Regions from separate parts of the Homo sapiens genome. Here region 2 is linked to region 1. The links are contacts of gene promoters, found by promoter capture Hi-C in human tissues and cell types (Jung and others, 2019). All regions are on one chromosome and are shown on one strand. The core of a region is centred on a gene start or on the middle of the fragment in contact, and the rest is flanking DNA. Distances in the headings are between cores, read along the strand shown.

Evidence for each region. Contacts are between HindIII fragments. The study calls those that stand out against the background at their distance.
Region 2: a contact is called between a fragment that was not itself captured here and the fragment with the promoter of DMRTA2 in region 1, in 1 of the 25 tissues and cell types used here (dorsolateral prefrontal cortex).

The regions. Positions count from the first base shown.
Region 1 is chr1:50,420,553-50,426,673 of GRCh38, reverse strand. It overlaps DMRTA2 (DMRT like family A2), which reads left to right and starts at 3,231. Exons shown (of 3, transcript NM_032110.3): 1 at 3,231-3,558; 2 at 5,130-5,696. The coding sequence starts at 5,138. It overlaps LOC105378714 (a long non-coding RNA gene), which reads right to left and starts at 3,128. Exons shown (of 3, transcript XR_947325.3): 1 at 2,777-3,128; 2 at 2,073-2,236; 3 at 1,802-1,834. RefSeq lists enhancers at 1-224, 4,936-5,435 and a silencer at 2,049-2,108. The HindIII fragment of the contact is 21,358 bases long and covers 1-5,622 here.
Region 2 is chr1:51,052,880-51,059,000 of GRCh38, reverse strand. No RefSeq gene overlaps it. Among named protein-coding and RNA genes, the nearest start is that of MIR4421, 3.9 kb to the left of the region's middle. The HindIII fragment of the contact is 5,033 bases long and covers 1,208-6,121 here.

The DNA of each region.
Region 1 (6,121 bases), core at 1,982-4,481:
AAGAGTACGCGTGTGGATGTGTGAGGAAGACCCTCTGCTCTCAGCCGCCTCATTTGTCCCGGAGGGTTTTGGCTTTTTCTGCCCGGGGCCCAACTGTAGAAGTAAGACTGGAGCTCCGCGCATAAACCAGGGCATACCTGCGTAAGAATGTGCTCCTGTCGGCGTGTGCTATCACCGAGGTGGAAATCTGTGGGAGTCTGGGAATGTCACACACCAAGTGGATGGCCCAGGATGGGGACATGCTTATAAGAACACTGTGAGGTCAAACTCACTGAAGGGGTCCCCTTGAGCCGGAGGGTAGCATCAGAGTTGAGCCTGGGCCCGGTGGTGCTCTCTGAATGCTGGCGTGAGAGTGTGTCCCAAACTTTGCAGAGAGTGGTCACACGCACGTGGGAGGGGGTGTGTCCAAGTGTGAAGCTACACTCAGGTTGGGAAGGGGGTAGACCCTGCTGCCTCAACCTGGGCGTGCTCTACTAGTGCTGGTGGCTCAGTTGGGCCATGCCCTTGCTTTCCCCTCCGACCAACCCAATCCAAATCAGGAGGAACTGGCCCTGGAGCGGCCTGGGAAGCTGGGCAGAGGATATCCTGCCCTGTCGAAGTGTGGGTGAGATGACCTTGGGTTTATTTGCCCTCCCTCCATAACGGGTTTATTTTGCCTCCCTCCATAACACATTCACTCACATGAACACCCTAACCTCCGGGGAGTGGGAGAAAAGGCTGTGGGTCTCAGACCTGTGGGGATGTGAATGCCAGAAAAGAGGAGCGAGAGAAGAGTGAGATGCCGCCACTAGGGGTTGGGCGGATTCCCTCTGGTTGGGCTGTGTTAGATGCCAGGATGCTCCTCCTCCCACTCCTGAGAAAATGAAGTTCCTCACGCATCTGCTGGGCCGCCTCGGGTTCCCGAGTCCTCGTGGCTACACCCTTGGCTTCTGCGGGATCCCCGGTCCGGAGTGGGGAAATCTCACGGTGACCTGGCCTCAAGCGAGAAGGATACCTGGGCCACCGCCCCCTCAAAAGCTAGGCAGATTTGTATAGTTTATTTCGTTTTCGGTTTAATAGAATTTCCCGAAAACTTTGTCCAAAGGAGCTCTGGGAGCAGGCGCCTGGCGGCCCCTGCGCGGAATCCGGCGGTTGTCGGCGCTCTTCCCCCGACCCCATGGCTCACCTACCCAGGTGCAGCCGGGGCTAGACATACTTGGCCTCGGAACCTCCAGGTGTTGGAAGGTGGGGTCTGGGTCCTGCGCTCCTAGAGGACATATTATCCCTGAAGCACTCCCTTATCCTCACTTCACGCGGGAGACCCTCGCGGGGGCTGACACCCTTCTCTCTCCTAAACCCATTCACAGACTCCAGCAAGTGGCATTTTCTGGGAGCGAGTAACCAGCTTTTTATCGCTATCATAGACCTTGTCCGTGTCGGAGCGCCCTCGCGCCGGGGCCTGGTGAACTTTCTGGAAGCTCTCCGCCCGGTCCTCCAGCGAATCACCCCCACCCACTCCTCCCTCCAGCCTCAGCCTCCCGGTGGGCATCTTCCAGGGCTCTTCCGGGGCGCCAGGTTCTGCGGTCTTCGGGTGGGGGCCCGTTAGTCGCACCGTCCTTCCCCCACCCCCATTCCTGGGCTCAGAAGCTGATAGACTGACAAGACGCGGCCCAGTAGTCGTGCCAGGCGGAATGGGCTGCGTCCTGAGGCCGCGACGACCCGGGCCGAGTCTGCGCGCCCAGATTCCCGCCGGCCTGGAGGTTCGAAAGAGCAACGCAGAGACGCACGGTCAAGAGTGGAGGGAGAACGACAGGAACGCTCATTTTCCTCATTATTTAAACGAATTTTCTTTATTCTGAAGGAGAGAGAGAAAAGTAGAGAACAAAAACGAGAGTGACAGAACATTAGAAATTAGAGGGAAAAACAGAATTAGAGGGAAAAACAGAACTTTAGAAATTAGAGGGGAAAAGACACAGAGATAAAATCAGAGCTACAGAAACCGAGGGCGACTCGCCCGAGGGCCGCGGCATTAATTCCAGATGTTTGAAAGGCAACAGCCTTTCAAAAAGGAAACAAAATCTGAAACCTGTTACCTCTTCTGCAGAACGAGCTGTTCCTCAGGGCCGTGACATCAAGACAAGACGAGAATAAGGCGAAAGTTAAAACTGAAAACTGTCCGAGGGGGCCTCCCAGCAGTGACTTTGTCTCTTGCCGGGAAGGTCGGACAGACCGATGCGCGTCCTGAGTTTAAGAGAATCTGCGGAGACACAGAGGCCACTTTTTACTTTCGTTTAGAAAAGAAAAAAAAAGGGGGGGGGGCTATTTGTTCATTTGCAATAACGACAAAAAGAATCCCACCACCACGGAAAAGAAATCGAGATGCTGAAAAGTGAGGAAAAGAGAGCTCAAAAGGGGCTGAGGGACGCGAAAAGAGGGGCGGGGAGAGGAAAGGCTCAGGGCGCGAGGGACGTGGCGGGCACCGACAGGAAGTGCAATCTCATTTCTCTTCGCTGAGCTTCTCTTTAAACACGAAAATCTTCATAAACCACACTTACCCTCCAGGATGACTATCGTATCAGGACTTTTAAAATAAAGTAACTGAGCTTTAAGGAGACAGGAGGAAAAAACCAAAGCAGCCCCCAACTACCCCAAACTCGTCGGATTTGGGAGCGCGCCGAAACATAGCAGGAAGAAGGCAGGAAAAATCGTCCTGGCATTTATGCCTTGAACACCCTCCCTTCCCCACCCCCGCACCCTTGTCCCGCCCCTACCCCGACCGCAGTAATTGAATTGTCACCTGCCCCCCATCCCGCCTCAGGGCTCCAGAGCCACTTGGGAAGCTCGGCTTTGCCAAGCGCCCCAGGCCAGTAAGAGCGGTGCAGCCGAGCCGGCGCCCCAGAAGCCGAGAGGTTACACAAGTCTACGCAGAGAGGCGCACCGGACACGGTAATTAGGAGCAATTCACACGCTCTCGGGCGCACGGAAACTACTTGTCAGGAAATTTTCAACGCTCCTCCTCGCCCACTTTTTTCCACTCCTTTCCTGGCGCGCCCCCTCCCCTCCCAGAGGCACGCAGTGGAGCTTTTGGAGTTTCGAATCTTTCGGACACTGCAGAATGCGGGGCTCCCCGGGCGCGGGCCCGGCCAATCAGAGCGCCGTCTGCCTCCCCTGGCCAATGGCAGGCGCCACATTGTTGTCCAATTCTGTCTAATGGAGCCCTAAGGACCAACAATAGAGCGGGCGAGCGGCTCATTGAGAGTCTGGCAGCGCCGGGCAACTGGGCCCCGGCTGCGCGCAGCGTCCGGCGCGCACCGCGAGGGGACCCGGCACGGCGAGAGTCAGGTCGCGGGTTCCAACCACGCGGCCCGCAGACGAGCCTCCGACCCGGATTTCTGAAGGGAGGGTTGGACTGCGCTGCGTTCTGAGGGGTCCGGAAGTTCGGACATGGTGACTGAAGGAGGGTGACGTGGTCAGATAAGGGGCCGGGGGCAAAGGGAAGCGGCCAAGAGCTCCAGCGTCGCCAGTGGAGCCGGGAGGCGCGTGCAGCGCCAGCGGAGGAGGAGGATCCCGGAGCCCAAGGCAGGTAGTTGAGGGCCGCAGGGAGAGCAGTGGGTGGAGACCTGGTCTGCGGCCCCTGTTGAGGAGGCCTGGGCCCCGTGGGCCTTAGGGACGCCCGAAGGGTCTGGGAGAGGAGGCAACGCTCATAGAGAGGAGGTCTGGGACTCTCGGACGGAGACACAAGGACTCTGTCGCGGGCTCTGGCAGGGACGGGGAACGCGGGAAGCAGAGGAGACCGCGGCAGAAGCGGGGAGCTGGGCCTGCTTGGGCCTTATGGGGCTGCGGCGTGGGAGGGACTCTGGTGTCCGTTTATGGCCAGTTGCGAAGGCGACTCCCCTGGCTTGGTGCGGCCTGCTGGGCCATCCGTGTCCTAGGACCCCAACTCTGAGATCAGAACGCAGGAGCCTGCGCTCGAGAGGGGTCCCCTGGGACCCCAAGACGGGGAGGGCGTGTCTGACGACTCTGTCCCTAAACCCGGAGGGGAGGGGAGGGCAGTGTGAGGTGGTCTTCGAGAAAGATCCCCCTCCCGAAATGCCTAACTTTTCGCAGGATACGTCTTCCGCCCCGACTACTACTCCAGACTGCGAAGCTAAAAAACTGCACCACAGGTTTTACCCAATCCCCTCCCCCAGCATTTGCCTGTGGGGTTTTTTCTTACACATTCCCCTCTCCCAGGCGCGGCCCCTGGATCCCGGACACCCAGATCAGCTGCTTTTCACTGTTTTCCTTGCCCATGAAGCTCATCTTTGGGCTGGGTTTGCCTATACAGAAAGTTTCTTTGGCCGAATTTTTCTCTTTAATACTTCCCAGTCCTAAGCTAAATTCCACATACATTTTGTCTCTCACTCTCTGGAGGCCCTCACCGTGGAACTTTTGGCGCTCACATTTTTACGGGTCCCAGAGCCACTGGGCCTAACTTTGCCCAAGTTGTTTCCTCGTCCTCACTCTGCTTCCTAAAGCTATTCTTTCTGTTGTTGATTTTTCTCTCCAAAGCTTCTGCCCCAAACTGCATTAAAAATAAACAAACAAAAAGAAACAAAACTCCGGCCCAACCGGCCTTCACATCTGCGCCTTCACATCTCTCTCCTCTTCACCCTTCCACCAAACTGACCGTTTTGCTCCGGGTTTTCCTGTTTTGCCCTTGGCATCAGCCTAACTTCTGGGCCAAAACTGTCGCTCTAATCCCAGTCCCGTCAAACGAGCATTTCTCTCACCCGTCTCACCCCAATTAGGCTAAGCTTTGGGGTATCATCTTAACTTTTCCAAATTCTCATTACAGCCATCTGAATCAGTGACTTTCACACTTTACATGTCTCTTTATTTTTTCCAGCGGAATCACTAATTCAGACAAAATCTTACCCCTAGCGTGTATATCAGGTCTAAGAGCAGCCATGGCCAGACTGGGGTGAAGGTGCTAGGGCTCACAAGGAGGTTCCGACTGCACCTCCTCCCAGCAATTCTGGCCCCTCTAGCCCAGCCTCCGCGGCCCAAATTTCCCTCTCCAGCTTGGGTTCCTCAAGGCGGCGCTTTGGCCTAGCGCGCGGTGTGCTCCTCACCAGGTCTCTCCCCTCTCCCACCTTCTTTCCCGTCAGGTCCTGTCATGGAGCTGCGCTCGGAGCTGCCCAGCGTGCCCGGCGCGGCGACGGCGGCGGCGGCAACAGCGACGGGGCCGCCTGTGGCGTCGGTGGCGTCGGTGGCGGCAGCCGCGGCGGCCGCTGCATCGCTACCGGTGAGCGTGGCAGGCGGCTTGCTGCGGGGGCCGCCACTGTTGCTGCGGGCAGCCGAGAAGTACCCGCGGACCCCCAAGTGCGCGCGCTGTCGCAACCATGGCGTGGTGTCGGCCCTCAAGGGCCACAAACGCTACTGTCGCTGGAAGGACTGCCTGTGCGCCAAGTGCACGCTCATCGCGGAGCGCCAGCGTGTCATGGCGGCGCAGGTGGCGCTGCGCAGGCAGCAGGCGCAGGAGGAGAACGAGGCGCGCGAGCTGCAGCTGCTCTACGGCACTGCCGAGGGGCTGGCGCTGGCCGCCGCCAACGGCATCATCCCCCCGAGGCCCGCCTACGAGGTCTTCGGTTCAGTGTGCGCCGCCGACGGCGGGGGACCTGGAGCGGGAGCGCCCGCGGGGACCGGAGGCGGAGCAGCTGGCGCAGGGGGCTCAGGTGAGAGCGCGGCCAGGCCGCAGGTAGGGGCAGCAGGATCGTAGCTCTGGGGCACGGGGCCCAGGGGCTTGTCTCGGTTCAGAAAGAGTAGAACCCCCGTGTCCAGTCGCCGCGACTGCTAGGGTTCACCGCTCGCCCAGCCTCGGGTATGGAGCGTGGGTACAGAAACTCTCCTTTCTCCCGCTTCTGGAGCATTTGCACTTTACCCCTTTCTCCTGCATCGGGCCGAAATGTACACGCTTTAATTTTTTTACTCGCCTCTACCCAAACGCAGGCAGGTCCCTGCTTCTTTGCTTCGTCTTCTCCCCAGGTGGAAACCTGCGCATCTTCGTTCGCTCTGCGCTTCTCCACAGGCCCTTTCCCTCTGCTCCTTCCCAACTCCCTTAAGGAATCCCCCCCCCTTTAACTGACACCCTAGGTTTTGA
Region 2 (6,121 bases), core at 2,475-4,974, 630 kb before region 1:
TGGCTACTCCAGACAGGCCACTGCTGCCATCACTTGCACCAACCTGTAGGTGACAGTCTTCCTCCATGAAGCCAGTTCATATGCTCTAGAAGTTACTCCTCCATGAAATATGCAAAGAAACAGCCCAAGGCTACAAGAAATACGCACACACGAAATCAAAGAAACAGGACACCACCAAAGGAACACAATAATTTTCCAATAACCAACCCCAAAGAAATGGATATCTATAAATTGCCTTCCAAACAATTAGAAATAATTGTTTTTAAAGAAGTTCAGCATGCAATAGGAGAACACAGTTGGACAACTCAGTGAAAACAGAAAAAGAGTCTACGGCCATACCACCTCGAACATGTCTGATTTCATCTGAAAACAGAGAAAGAATACATGAACAATACAAGAAGTTCAACAGGAAGGTAGAACTTATAAAAAAGAACCAGGCTGGGAGTGGTGGCTCACACCTGTAATCCTAGCACTTTGGGAGGCCAAGGTAGGCGGATTGCCTGAGCTCAGGAGTTTGAGACCAGCCTGGGCAACACAGTGAAACCCCATATCTACTAAAATACAAAAAATTAGCTGGGCATGGTGGTGTGCACCTGTAATCCCAGCTACTCAGGAGACTGAGACAGGAGAATCACTTGAACCTGGGAGGCAGAGGTTGCAGTGAGCTGAGGTCATGCCACTGCACTCCAGCCTGGGTGACAGAATGAGACTCCAACTCAAAAAAAGAAAAAAAAAAAAAAAAGAAAAAGAAAGAAATTCTGGAACCAAAAAACCTAATGACTGATATTAAAAACACAATAGAGAACTTCAAAAATAGACTTTATTGAGCAGAAGAAAGAATTTGTGCCCTTGAAGACAGGTTATTTGAAATTATCCAGTCAGAGGAGAAAAAAGAATGAAAAAGAGTGAAGAAAATTTATAGGACTTATGGGACACCATCAAGCAAACCAATATGTGCATAATGAGAGTACTAGAAGAAGAAAAGCAAGAGAAAGAGGTAAAAAGCTTTTTTAAAGAAATAATGGGTTAGGTGCAGTGGCTCATGCCTGTAATCCCAGCACTTTGGGAGGTCGAGGCAGGTGGATCACCTGAGGTCAGGAGTTAAAGACCAGCTTGGCCAACATGGTGAAACCTTGTCTCTACTTAAACTACAAAAATTAGCCAGGTGTGGTGGCAGGTGCCTGTAATTCCAGCTACTCGGGAGGCTGAGGCAGGAGAATGACTTGAACTTGGGAGGCAGACGTTGCAATGAACTGAGATTGTGCCACTGTACTCCAGCCTGGGTGACAGAGCAAGACTACTTCTCAAAAAATTATAATAATAATAATGATAATAAAATAAAATAAAGAAGTAATGGCTGAAAACTTCTCAAATTTTGAGAGGGAAATGGATATCCAGATTCATGAAGCTTACAGGTTTTCAAAGAGGATCAATTCAAGACTATACCAAGGTACATTTTAATCAAATTGTCTAAAATAAAGGACACTGAAAGAATTTTAAAGCTGCAAGAGAAAAGTAATGCATCACATATAGGGAATCACCATAAGACTATCAGTGGCTTTCTCATCAGAAACCTTGCATGCCGAAGAGAATGGGATGATATATTGAAAGAACTGGAAAAAAAAAACTACTTACCGTGAATCTACATCTGGCAAGATTATCCTTTAAAAATGAAGGGGAGATGAATTCTTCCTTAGACAAACAAAAACAAAGGGAGTCTGTCACTACTAGCCCAGCCGTAAAAGAAATGTTTAAAAGAGTTATTTCTTCAAATTGAAATGAAAACACACTAAATAGTATAATGAAAACATATAAAAGCATAAATATTATGAGTAAAGGAAAATATATGGACAAATATAGTTAATATAAAACTATAATGGTGGGGCCTAACTTACTTTTAACCCTAATATAAAAATTAAAAGATAAAAATTTGTCAAAGGATACACAATATAAAAGGCAACAAACTGACTACAAGAACACAAAGTGTAGGGGTGGGGAGTAAAAATGTAAAACGGTTTTTGGTTTTGGTTTTTTTTAGAGACAAGGTCTTACTACATTGCACAGGCTGGTCTCAAACACCTCACTTCAAGCAATCCTCCTGTCTCAGCCTCCCAAAGCACTGGGATTACAGGTGTGAGCCACCATGCCTGGCCAAAAGTATAAAGGTTTTGGATGTGATTGAAATAGTTATAAACTTAAAAATAGATGGTTAGAAATACAAGATATTTTTCATAAGCCTCAAGTTAACCACAAAGAATAAAATCTGTAACAGATACAGAAAACATAAAGAGATGAGAATCAAAGCAATCACTATAAAACATCAAATAACAAACGAATATAATAAGAGAGGAAGAGAGGGGCAATATAACTGCAAAAGACACAAACCAGTTAACAGAATGGCAATAGTAGTCCTCAGCTATCACTAATTACTTTAAATGTAAATGGATTAAACTCACCAATTAAAAGGCATAGAGTGGCTGTGTAATTTGAAAGAACAGGATCCAATGGTATGTTGTTTATAAGAGACTGATTTTAGAGTTAAAGACACATATAGACTAAAAGTGAAGAGATGAGAAAAGATTTCTCACGCAAATGGTAACCAAGGATACGCAGGGTAACTATACTTATGTTAGACAAAACAGATTTTAGTTTAAAGCTGCCTGCAGAGACAAAGTCTTGATATAATTATAAAAAGATCATTTCAACATGATTATGTAACAATTATAAATATGTATATACTGAACAAAGAGCATCTAAATATATAAAGCAAATGTTGACAGATCTGAAGGCAGAATTTGACAGTAACATGATAATAGTAGAGGATTTCAATACTCCACTTATAATAATGTACAGAATATCAAAAAAGAAACAGAAAACACTATAAAACAAATGATCCTAACAGATATATAAAGAAATTTGCACCCAACAACAGAAGATTATCCACTTTTCTCAAGCATACATGGAACATTCTCCAGGATAGATCATATGTTAGATTACAAAACAAGTGACCTAATTTAAGAAGATTGGAATTATTCCAAGTATCTTTCTGGACCACAAGGGATGAAAGTAGAAATCAATAATCTTAAGAAAATAGGAAAAATCACAAACACATAGAAACTCAACAACAAACTCTTGAACAACTCTTGGGTCAAAGAGGAAATCAACGGGTAATTTTAAGAGTATCTTGAGGCTAGAAATGATGGCTCACATCTATAATCCCACTGCTTTGGGAGGCCAAGATGGGAAAATTGCTTGAGACCAAGAGTTTGAGGCTAGCCTGGGCAAAGAAAAAAAAAAAAAAAAAAAAAAAGAAAGAAAGAAAAGAAAGAGAGAAAGAAAGGGAAAAAAAAGAGAAAAACAGTAGAACATACCAAAATTTATAGGGTGCAGCAAAAGCAGTACTAAAAGGGAAGTATATAGTGATAAATGCCTACATTAAAAGAAGAAAGAAGGCCGGGCACAGTGGCTCATGCCTGTAATCCCAGCACTTTGGGAGGCCGAGGTGGGAGGATCACTTGAGGTCAGGAGTTTGAGACCAGCCTGGCCAACATGGCAAAATCTCATCTCTACTAAAAATACAAAAAATTAGCCAAGCATGGTGGTGCGTGCCTGTAATCCCAGCTACGTGGGAGGCTGAGGCAGGAGATCACTTGAACCTGGGAGGTAGAGGTTGCAGTGAGCCAAGATCATGCCACTGCACTCCAGCCTGGGTGACAGAGCATGACTCAGTCTCAAAAAGAAAGAAATAGAAAGAAAAAGAAAGAAAGAAAGAAAAGAAAGAAAGAAAGAAAGGAAGGAAGGAAGGAAGAGAAAGAAAGAAGGGAGGGAGGGAGGGAGGGGAGAGAGGGAGGGAGGAAGGGAGGAAGGAGAAAGATCTCAAATAAGATATTACACCTCAAAGAACTAGAAAAAGAGCAAACTAAGCCCCAAATTAGTGGAATAAAGGAATTAATAAAGATCAAAGAAGAAATAGAGAATATATTTATTTATTTGTTTATTTTTTTGAGACAGAGTCTCACTGTGTCACACAGGCTGGAGTGCAGTGGCATGATCCCGGGTTCAAGTGATTCTCGTGCCTGAGCCTCCTGAGTAGTTGGGATTACAGGTGCCCACCAGCATGCCCGGCTAATTTTTGTATTCTTAGTAAGAGACGGGGTTTCACCATGTTGGTCAGGCTGGTCTCGAACTCCTGACCTCAGGAATTGATTCCTGCTGGGATTACAGGCATGAGCCACTAGGCCTGGCCTCAAATAGAGAATTTTATAAGCAAGAGAAAAGATTCCATAAGACTAAGAGTTGGTTTTTTGAAAACAAAAAATCAACAAAAAATCTCAGTCTTTGCTAGACTGAGAAAAAAGAAAAAAAACTCAAATAAACCAGAAATAAGAGAGGACGCATTGCAAAGAGTGCCTCAGAAATAAAAAGAATCGGCTGAGCATAGTGGCTTACGCCTATAATCCCAGCACTTTGGGAGGCCAGGGAGGGTGGATCACTTGAGGTCAGGAGTTCGAGACCAGCCTGGCCAACATGGTGAAACCCCATCTCTACTAAAAATACACAAATTAGCCGAGTGTGATGGCACATGCCTGTAATCCCAGCTACTTGGGAGGCTGAGGCATGAGAATTGCTTGAACCCAGGAGGTGGAGGCTGCAGTGAGCTGAGATCATGCCACTGCATTCCAACCTTGGTGATGGAGTGGGACTGTCTCAAAAAAAAAAAAAAAAAAAGAATCATAAGGGACTATTATGAACAATTTAATTATATGCCAATAAACTATAACTTAGAAGATTAGAACCATATACCCTGAATTAAGAAAATATAGAAAGCCTGAAGAAACCAATAACAAGTAAGAACATTGAATCAATAATCAAAGCCTTCCAGCAAAGAAAAGCCCAGAATCAGATGGCCTCCTGGGTGAATTGTATGAAACATTTGTAAAATAATTAATACCCTTTCTCCTTAAACTCTTCCCAAAAAGATAAGGAATACTTCCAAATTCATTCTATGAGGCCAGCATCATCCTGACACCAAAACCAGACAAAAACACTATACAAAAGAAAAAGAAAGAAAGAAAACTAAAGAGCAATAGTCCCAATGAATATACATGCAAAAGTCCTCAATGAAATGCTAGCAAACTGAATTCAGTTGCTCATTAAAGGGATCATATACTATGACCAACTTGAGTTTATCCTTGGGAGTTAAGGATGGTTCACTATATGCAAATCAACCAATGAGATACAGCACATTAACAAAATGAAAGAAAAAACCACATGATCTTCTCAATAGATGCAGAAAAAAACATTTGACAAAATTTGCCATCCATTCATGATTAAAGCTACAACAAAATAAATATAGCAGGAACTTACCTCAAAACAACAAAGATCATATATGAAAAGCCCAAACCTAACACCACAATCAAACCTTGGGGGACAGGTCGAAAGCTTCCCCCAAGATCCAATACAAGGCAAGGATGTTCATGCTTGACACTTCTGTTCAACATATTACTGGAAGTTCTTGCCAGAATAATTAGACCAAAATAACATCCAAATTGTAAAAGAATAAGTAAAATTATCTCTGTTTGCAGATGACACAATCAAATATGTACAGAACCCTAAAGGAAAAAAATCTGTTGGAACTAACTAACCAATTTAGTAAAGTTACAGGATAACCAACATACTAAAACACACAAACAGCAAAACTACCTGAAAAGGAAATTTAAAAAACAATCCCATTTACAATAGCTACAAACTTAACCAAAACAGAAACACTTGCATGCTGAAAATTATGAAACATTGATGAAGGAAACTGAAGAAGACACAGATGAATGGAAATACATCCTATGTTCATGGATTGGAAAATTCAATATTTTTAAAATGTCAACATTAGGCCAGGCACAGAGGCTCATGCCTGTAATCCCAGCACTTTGGGAGGCTGAGGTGGGTGGATCACCTGAGATGGGGAGTTCGAGACTAGCCTGACCAACTTGGAGAAACCCCGTGTCTACTAAAAATACAAAATTAGCCAGGCATGGTGGTGCATGCCTGTAATCCCAGCTACTCGAGAGGCTGAGGCAGGAGAATCCCTTGAACCCTGCAGCTGGAGGTTGCGGTGAGCTGAGAT